Linked DNA regions of Homo sapiens: region 2 is linked to region 1. The links are contacts of gene promoters, found by promoter capture Hi-C in human tissues and cell types (Jung and others, 2019). All regions are on one chromosome and are shown on one strand. The core of a region is centred on a gene start or on the middle of the fragment in contact, and the rest is flanking DNA. Distances in the headings are between cores, read along the strand shown. Region 1 holds the start of TECPR1 (tectonin beta-propeller repeat containing 1). Region 2 overlaps ARPC1A (actin related protein 2/3 complex subunit 1A).

The links. The method cuts DNA at HindIII sites, captures the fragments that hold promoters and counts their contacts. A contact is called where the count stands out against the background at its distance.
Region 2: a fragment that was not itself captured here is called in contact with the fragment with the promoter of TECPR1 in region 1 in 1 of the 25 tissues and cell types used here (IMR-90 fibroblasts).

Annotation. Positions count from the first base shown.
Region 1 is chr7:98,249,599-98,254,024 of GRCh38, reverse strand. It overlaps TECPR1 (tectonin beta-propeller repeat containing 1), which reads left to right and starts at 1,793. Exons shown (of 26, transcript NM_015395.3): 1 at 1,793-1,899; 2 at 2,477-2,631. It overlaps LOC124901706 (a long non-coding RNA gene), which reads right to left and starts at 1,666. Exons shown (of 2, transcript XR_007060448.1): 1 at 1,497-1,666; 2 at 1-1,141. RefSeq lists silencers at 1,507-1,606, 1,697-2,086 and an enhancer at 1,403-2,146. The HindIII fragment of the contact is 13,154 bases long and covers 1-4,426 here.
Region 2 is chr7:99,335,845-99,340,282 of GRCh38, reverse strand. It overlaps ARPC1A (actin related protein 2/3 complex subunit 1A), which reads right to left. Exons shown (of 10, transcript NM_006409.4): 3 at 1,998-2,102. Among named protein-coding and RNA genes, the nearest start is that of ARPC1A, 12 kb to the right of the region's middle. The HindIII fragment of the contact is 3,077 bases long and covers 297-3,373 here.

The DNA of each region.
Region 1 (4,426 bases), core at 544-3,043:
CAGAGTTTTGCTCTGTTGCCCAGGCTGGAGTGTAGTGGCACAATCTCAGCTCACTGCAAGCTCCGCCTCCTGGGTTCACCTCATTATCCTGCCTCAGCCTCCCGAGTAGCTGGGACTACAGGCGCCCGCCACCACGCCCGGCTAATTTTTTGTGTTTTTAGTAGAGACGGTGTTTCACCATGTTAGCCAGGATGGTCTCATCTCCTGACCTCATGATCCACCCGCCTCGGCCTCCCAAAGGGCTGGGATTACAGGCGTGAACCACTGCGCCCGGCCCACTCATCGTCCTTCTGCTAATAGCACCCTGATCTTCCTCTGAGGAGCCACCCCCTGTGCCTGGCTGAGCCCTTATGCTTGAGGGGGGCTCTGCCCACATCTCCAGACCAAGTCCACAAATGCCAGTCCCTCAGGCCCAAGCTAAAGTCAGGGTCAGACACAGGACTCCACAGAGCCATCCGGGGTGAACAAGAGGCTTCTGGGGGCGTTTTCTTCCACTGGAGCTGGCCTGTGTGGGGCTTCCCCAAACATGAAGGCCCAGGAAAAGCCTGTGTGCAACCCCAGAAATGAGACAGAACTAGAGGGGGAGCAGGAATAGGTCCCTAGGTCCAACCAGGTGACATTGGTTTAGCTCAATGTCGGGTAGTATCTAGCCTTCCATCAGATGCCCTTTTTTTTCTTTTTTGAGAAGGAGTTTTGCTCTTGTCGCCCAGGCTGTAGTGCGGTGGCACAGTGGCACGATCTCAGCTCACTGCAACCTCCACCTCCCCAGTTCAAGCGATTTTCCTGCCTCAGTCTCCCGAGTAGCTGAGATTACAGGCATGCGCCACCACCCCTGGCTAATTTTGCATTTTTACTAGAGACGGGGTTTCACCATCTTGGCCAGGCTGGTCTCAAACCCCTGACCTCAAGTGATCCGCCCGCCTTGGCCTCCCAAAGTGCTGGGATTACAGGTATGAACCGCCGCACCTGGCCGACATCTTTCTTTTTTCTCCTTTCTCCATCCTAACCTTGCCAGTTTTCTGCCAGGCGGGATACAGTGTTTTCAAATCCCAGTTCCATCGCTTACAACGTGAGTCGCTCCATCTCTGAGCCCGTGTTCGCATTTGTAAAATGGGAATGACGCCGCCAGCTCTTTGGGTTGCTGGGAGGATGAAATGAGAAGACCCAAGTAAAGCACTTACGTCAGTGCCCGCCACCCCGGGAGGACTCGCATATTACTATTAATATATTAGGCCAGCTTACACTGGGTTTTGTCACTGACAATAGAGTTTGAGCAATCCAGGGCCTGTTACTGACACCACACCATGCTATAGTCACAAAATCACATATGCTTCCAGGACTCCTCCTCGAAAGAGTAAAGCTTTAAGTGTAGTGTGTGCTCAAGGGCTACGTTTCAGTTCGATGGATACCAGGAAGACACCTGTTCCCTGCGTCCTCTCCACGCCCCAGGCCGGGCGCCCACACCCTGCTCCTCCTGACGCCGCACAGCCACGCACCCAGGTACCCTCTCCGCCACCCCTTCTCCTCGCCTGCAGGCGGTGTCCACACCGCCCTCTCCGCTCCTGCAGACCGGGTCCTGGAGGGCGGCCGGGCGGTCCACGGGCCGGTGTCGCGCCGCCAGAGAGAACGCGGCAACTCGCTTCAGCCGACTCTGGACTCCTGACCTGGCGCGACCCCGGAAGTGGGCGGGCGCGCGACCTCGAAGCCAGCACCGACGCGGCGCACCGCAGCCAATCGCACGTCCCAGGTCGCAGCGTCCTGGCGAGGCTGGCCAATGGGCACGGGGCCTGATGCCGCTTCCGGCCCACCCTCTTGCCCGGTCCCCGGGAGGGCCGGTCCGCTCCTCCCGGACGCCGAGGACCTACCACCGCGACTTCGCCCCGCCCGGCGCGGGCCCAGGTGAGTGCAGAGTGGCGCCCCAGCTGCAGCGGCGGCCAGGGCCGTGGGAAAGAATGGGGCGATGAAGGGCTGGGCACGCCGCCTTCCCCACCACCCCCAGGCTGTTTGCTCGCGGGGAGGGAGGAAGGAGGGACCGCACTTGTCATCTCGCCTGCACACCTGGAAGGTGCCGCCCCCGTCCCCTGCCCTGGAACGCCCACAGGCTAGCGAAGTTGCCTGGTGCAGGTGACGCCCCCATTCCAGCCTTTGGACTGGAGCCATAGGAGAAGCGGATCGCGGGATCCTGGTTGTTTTCGAGAATCACGCAGCAAGGGGCCTGCCTATCCCTCTCCCTGGGTATTGATGGGAGCAAATCTGCTTGTCGTAAGATTAGCTTTGGCAGATGGTCAGGGCCCAGAGCTCCGACATATGCTACTGGTGGCAGTGCAGGGGCCCCACCTGTCACCCAAGTGCACAGCACTGGGCTGAACGCCAGGCTGACTCAGGACACCTCCTGCCCGGTGGGGCTGGGCGGACCCTATTCTTCAGGAAAGAATCAACTACCATGCAAGTTCTGCTGCTTTTTCCCACCTTTTAGGACCCTGATGTCGCTTTTGAACAGCCCCTGCACCTGGCAGCCAGCGAGCTACTGTAGTAGGCATTGCCGACTGTTTGCATACCGGATGGGAGTGACAGTGTAATAGAAAAACAAGCAAGAAACCTTTTAGGTAGGACTCCTAAGGCTCAGAGGAAGTAAGTGCTTGCGGAGCGTTCTTTGTACTGTGTCTTTTCCTCTACCACATCTCTGTCCCCGCCTCTCTTGGGTGCTTTTTTTGGTCTCTGAAAGGATCTGTGAATAAACTGAGACAGAAAGGCAGATGGCTTTGAGGGTGGCGAGCAGACCTTCTTCGTGGAAAGACTGAAGGTTCAACTCAAATTCATCTTGTAGAAATTCTTGGTGAATTCGAGGCTGCTGATTTGGAAGATTTTCCTCCATCCCTCTAACCCTACAAAACAAACAAGTCCCAGGATCCCTGAATCATGGGGCTTCATGTTCCAACCCCCCTTTCAAGAGTCCTCTGACCCAGTGACCCTGTGTAAGTTGCCTGATCAGCTCACAGCCAGAAAGTGGCCCATGAGGAGCTAGGGGGAGCCTCTTGGCAGAGGCAGAAAGAAAGTGTGGCTGACCAAGGATGGTTACCGGATGTCAACTGTAGCTAGGAAGTGACGACAGGTGCCTGGGTCTCTACTCTGAAGGGAGTTTGTAAATACAGCAACCCCCCACCCCTCCCTTTCACTGTAGCAGAGTCTTCTCCCATTAACTGCCCAGAAGATTCAATGATGTCTATGAGGAAATTAGTGCTTAGTCATTTATTTGAAGGAAAGTCAAAATCTCCTTTCATTGAGCTCAACCTGCAGACTGAGTCTAGCTAAACTGCTTGCTTATCCAGTGAATTCTGAGCTATCTTTGTTTTGTTGTTGTTGTTGTTGTTGTTTGTTTTCCTTTTTGAGACAGGGTCTCGCTCTGCTGCCCAGGCTGGAGTGCAGTGGCACAATCATAGCTCACTGTAGCCTCAAACTCCTGGGCTCAAGTGATCCTCCTGCCTCAGCCTCCCAAGTAGCTAGGATCACAGGCATGTGCCACCACACCTGGCTAATTTTTTTTTTAACTTTTTATTTTTACAGAGATGGGGTCTCCCTGTGTTGCTTAGGCTGGTTTTGAACTCCTCGGCTCAAGCGATCCTCCCACCTCAGCCCCGGAAAGGGCTGGGATTACAGGCATGAGCTACTGCACCTGGCCTCTGAGCTATCTTTGAAGGCTAACTTATATTTAACACTATAGAAAGTGACAATTAAAAAAAAAAACCTTCGTCTTCCCCTAGCATTTTATTGAGGATTTTCCCACATACAGCCAAGTTGAAAGAATTATACAGTCAGCATCCCCATCCCCACCAACTAGATTCTACTATTGACACTTTACTTGCTTTATCACATATCTGTCCACCAATTATGACCTTACTTTTCAAGTTATTTGTGGCATTTGTTTTCCCTGGAGAAGTATTTCTGTCTTAGATCAGGGAGTTGGCAGTGTGTTGGAGGTAGGTGGTGGTGATTATCCTTAAATGTTGTTTCAACACCCACTGTGTGCAGAGACTATTATGGAAATGAAGAGGCTGAAGACTCAGACCTGAAAGGGACTTGGTTTTTTGTTTTTCTTTTTTTTTTTTTGAGATGGAGTCTTGCTGTGTTGGCCAGGCTGGAGTGTGGTGACACGATCTTGGCTCACTACAATCTCCTCCTACCAGGTTCAAGCGATTCTCCTGCCTCAGCCTCCCAAGCCGGCTAATTTTTGTAGTTTTAGTAGAGACGGGTTTCACCGTGTTGGCCAGGCTGGTCTCAAACTCCTGGCCTCAAGCAATCTGCCCGCCTTGGCCTCCCAAAGTGTTGGGATTACAGGCATGAGCCACCACGCCCAGCCCTATTCTGCCTTTTATAGATTAGGAAATTAAGGCACAGAGAGGTTAGTTAGCTTTTGGTGGTACAAGAA
Region 2 (4,438 bases), core at 586-3,085, 1.1 Mb before region 1:
GCTGAGGCGGGAGAATTGCTTGAACCTGGAAGGCAGAGGCTGCAGTCAGCCAAGACTGTACCACTCCATTTCAGCCTAGACGACAGAATGACACTCCATCTCAAAACAAACAAACAAACAAACAAACAAACAAAAACAGAAAAAAGACAAAAACTCAATGAAAAAATGATCAGGATTTATGAACAGGACAGTCACAAGGAAGAAAAACTCTCATGGCTAATACACGTCTGAAAGTATCTCAACTTTTCCATGAATCAGGAAAATACAACTTACAGAAGCAATGGATGAACCTTTCATGCATTCTTCAGTCTTCCCATCTCAAGTATGTGGCGGGGTGTGGGAAAATGAGCACTCTCATACAGGACAGGTGGGAATGATGGCAATCTGATGAGGCCTGGCAACACTGCACTGCAGATATGCATACCCTGTGGTATTAACACATCTACCATCTACAAACATTCACACATACGTACAGAAATCAAGGGATGCCTATTCAGCACTTTCATGTAATATGGAAAAATTGAAACAACCTAAATGTTCTTCAGTGGAGGAAGGAGTAAATAAATGAGGTATAAAATGCTAAAGAGTGGTTAAAAGGAATAAACTTGATCTAGACAGCAACATAGATGGATCTCAGAAACAATCATGAATGCAAAAGCAGGCTGCCGGAGATGCATAGTATCATGCCATTTATGTAGCTTCAAAAAAATACTAGTCAATAGTCCTAAAGATTGTTTTCTCTTTTTTCTTTTTTTTGAGATGAGGGTCTTGCTGTGTCACCCAGGCTGGAGTGCAGTGGTGTGATCACAGCTCACTGCAGCCTTGATCTTGTCTCAAGTGGTCCTCCCACTTCAGCCTCACAAGTAGCTGGGACCACAGGTGCATGCCACCACACCGTGCTAACGGGGGGTCTCATTATGTTGCCCAGGCTAGTCTTGGATTCCTGGGTTCAAGCGATCCTCCCGCCTCAGCCTCCCAAAGTGCTGGGATTACAGGTGTAAGCCACTGTGCTTGGCCTAAGCTTGTTTATGAATATGTATGTATGTAAATGTATTAAAAATGGACTGGAATGGTGTCATAGCAAATTATAGTCTGCCTTCCAGGGGAGAGGAATAGGACTGCTGGTGAGAGGTGACTTTACCATCATCAAGAATAATATTCCTTATTATTACATCCTTTTTCCTTAAGTTTCCTGATACAGGAAAAGAAATTACTTCCTGGCACAGGGAAAAAGTTGGTAATTCTGGTGGCGATTATCTGATATGGGTGTTTATTATATTACTTTGTTCTTCTCAATATTCTGGAAAGTCTTCCTTACCCTAAAAACACAAAGGAAACTTTTGGAAGACACTTGGAAATAGTTTGGCGCACGTTTTCGTGTTGTCTACATTTTCATGTTATCTAGCTTTCAATTTCACGTCTCATCTCCTAATTTTAGCTCTTTAGTCCTCAGGGTAGGTTCAGTGCTTTCCATAGCAACGGTAGAGTGCTGGGTACCAGCTGGGGCCACAAGAAGCACTTAACAACTAAGATCATTATAGTATTTTCTTTAAAATTTTAAGGAAATTCAGTAAGTGCTGCATGACTTTAAATATTACGGGCCAGGTGCGGTAGCTCACTCCTGTAATCCCAGCACATTGGGAGGCCGAGGCAGGAGGATCACGAGGTCAGGGGTTCGAGACCAGCTTGACCAACATGGTGAAACCTATCTCTACTAAAAATAAAAAAAATTAGCCAGGCATAGTGGCGCGTGCCTGTAATCCCAGCTACTCAGGAAGCTGAGGCAGGAAAATTACTTGAACCCGGGAGGTGGAGGTTGCAGTGAGCCGAGATTGCGCCATTGCAGTCCAGCCTGGGCGAAAGAGTGATACTCCTTCTCAAAAAAAAAAAAAAAAAAAAAAAAATTATGGCCACCTGGGTTTATTAGGCTCTTTATCTAAAAGGAAGAGTGCCTGATTTGGAAATATCACACTAAGCTCACGGCTATCTTCCTTTACCTGTGATGTGTCCGTTGTGCTCCTTGAGTTCATGAGCTTTCACCCACTGGCTCCCGTTCTTCTTATAGATGTGCACTTCGTGATTATTGGGACTGAGGGCAATCTCTGGAGACACAAGTCAAACAACAGTTAACACCTGAACTTGCAATTGTCACCAAAAAGGGGACATGTCACAGTTGTTTTAAAAGCAGACTATAGTAAGGAAAAGAAAAACTTTTGAAAAAGTAGTTCCCAAATTCACCTCTGAATAATTCCATTTTTTTTTTAACCTTTACTTGGACCCTGTATTTTATAATGCTTTACAGGAAAACTAAGATTAAAATTCATTTTCCCAGAGACACGTACAACTGTCAATTAATGATTCTAACCAGCGAAAAATAAACAATGTTAGTGTACTTAGCTAAAATAACTTTAGATCAGGGTAAAAATGTTTGACAGTTTCATTCACCTGTGCAATATTATTAGAGCTAAATCTAAATTTCTGTTTGTCTTTTTGAAACACTGAAAATAGGTTATGGACTTCCATTACTGCTATCATGGACCCAGGCTGGAACCACTAGTTTATATTAAAAAAATTGATTCTGCTGATAAACTATACTGAAATTCTCCTTTACAATAAAGCCAATATAAATCACAATACTTTGTTTTCAAGAGTAATTTCCTGAACTAATCCAAAATATAATACACAAAACGGACTTTTTAAAAACTCATACAGGTTGAGCATCCCTAATCTGAAAAGCTGAAATCTGACATGCTCCCAAATCCAAAACTTTTTGAGTATCAACATGACACTCAAAAGGTCATGCTCAAACGCAATGCTCTCTGGAACATTTTGGATTTCAGATTTTCATTTTTTTCTTTTTTGAGATAGTGTTTTGCTCTCGTTGCCCAGGCTGGAGTGCAATGGCGCGATCTTGGCTTACTGCAACCTCCGCCTCCCAGGTTCAAGCGATTCTCCTGCCTTAGCCTCCGAAGTAGCTGGGATTACAGGCATGCGCCACCACGCCCAGCTAATTTTGTATTTTTAGTAGAGACAGGGTTTCTCCATGTTGGTCAGGCTGGTTTCAAACTCCCGACCTCAGGTAATCTGCCTGCCTTGGCCTCCCAAGGTGCTGGGATTACCAGCATGAGCCACCAGGCTCAGCTGGATTTCAAATTTTCAGTGCTCAAATCGTATATATTATGCAAATATCCCCAAATCGTAAGTCCAGAAAATTCTGGTCCCAGGCATTTCAGATAAGGGATACTAGACCTGTATTCATGTATCTTTTTTTACCCCATCTAGTTCATCTGTTTTTTTTTTAATTGAATTTAATTTTTATTTTTAGTAGAGACAGGGTCTCACTATGTTGCCTAGGCTGGTCTTTAACTCCTGGCCTCAAGCAATTCTCCTGCCTTGGCCTCCCAAAGCACTAGGATTACAGGCATGAGCCACGATGCCCAGCCCCTCTTTCTTTTTATTGGTTTCTTAAAATTAAAATTAGGATCTATGGGCCAGGCGTGGTGGCTCACGCCTGTAATCCCAGCACTTTGGGAGGTTGAGGCAGGCAGATCACCTGTGATCAGGAGTTCGAGACCAGCCTGGCCAACACGGGGAAACCCCGTCTCTGCTAAAAATACAAAAATTAGCCAGGCCTGGTGGCACGCGCCTGTAGTCCCAGCTACTTGGGAGGCTGAGGCAGGAGAATCGCTTGATCGTAGGAGGCAGAGGCTGCATTTTGGGCCGAGATCACGTCACTGCACTCCAGCCTGGGTGACAGAGTGAGACCCTGTCTCAAAAAAAAAAAAAAAAAAAAAAAAAAAATTAAGACCTATGATCCAAACTTTAGGCCAGTCATTAATAGTCCCCACCTACACTCACTTTCCTACCCTCCTTAGGAAAGCTACATCTATCTGCTTTACAGATAAAACTGTGGAACTAGGTAAATATCTAGCTATAAAATCCTAAGGACTTAAGAGTGCTTTCTGGTAAATAGTTATATATTTCTCTCACTTTCTCACATGTATATAGAGATTTCAAAAGCCAAGTCCAAATTTAAACCTGGAAAATGTTATAAATTTCAAATTACAATGTCACAAAAAATGTTGACTTAATATGCTGAATTTATCAAGTAGTTTAAATGAGGACAATGATAGCTTGCATCTGTATTAAAAATAATTGGAAATACTCCAAAAGCCTATTATTAGATGGGAAAGTGGAAACAGAAGATATAGGAAAGTTGGCTATGAAGCTCTGTGAGATGATCACAAAACACATGCTCTAAATTCACTGTCCTGCTAGGTTATACATTTTCAATTACCCAATACAGAGGCTTTTTTTTTTTTCTTTTTTGAGACTGAGTCTCACTCTGTTGCCAAGGCTGGAGTGCGGTGGCACAATCTCGGCTCACTGCAAGCTCCGCCTCCCAGGTTCACGCCATTCTCCTGCCTCAGCCTCCCGA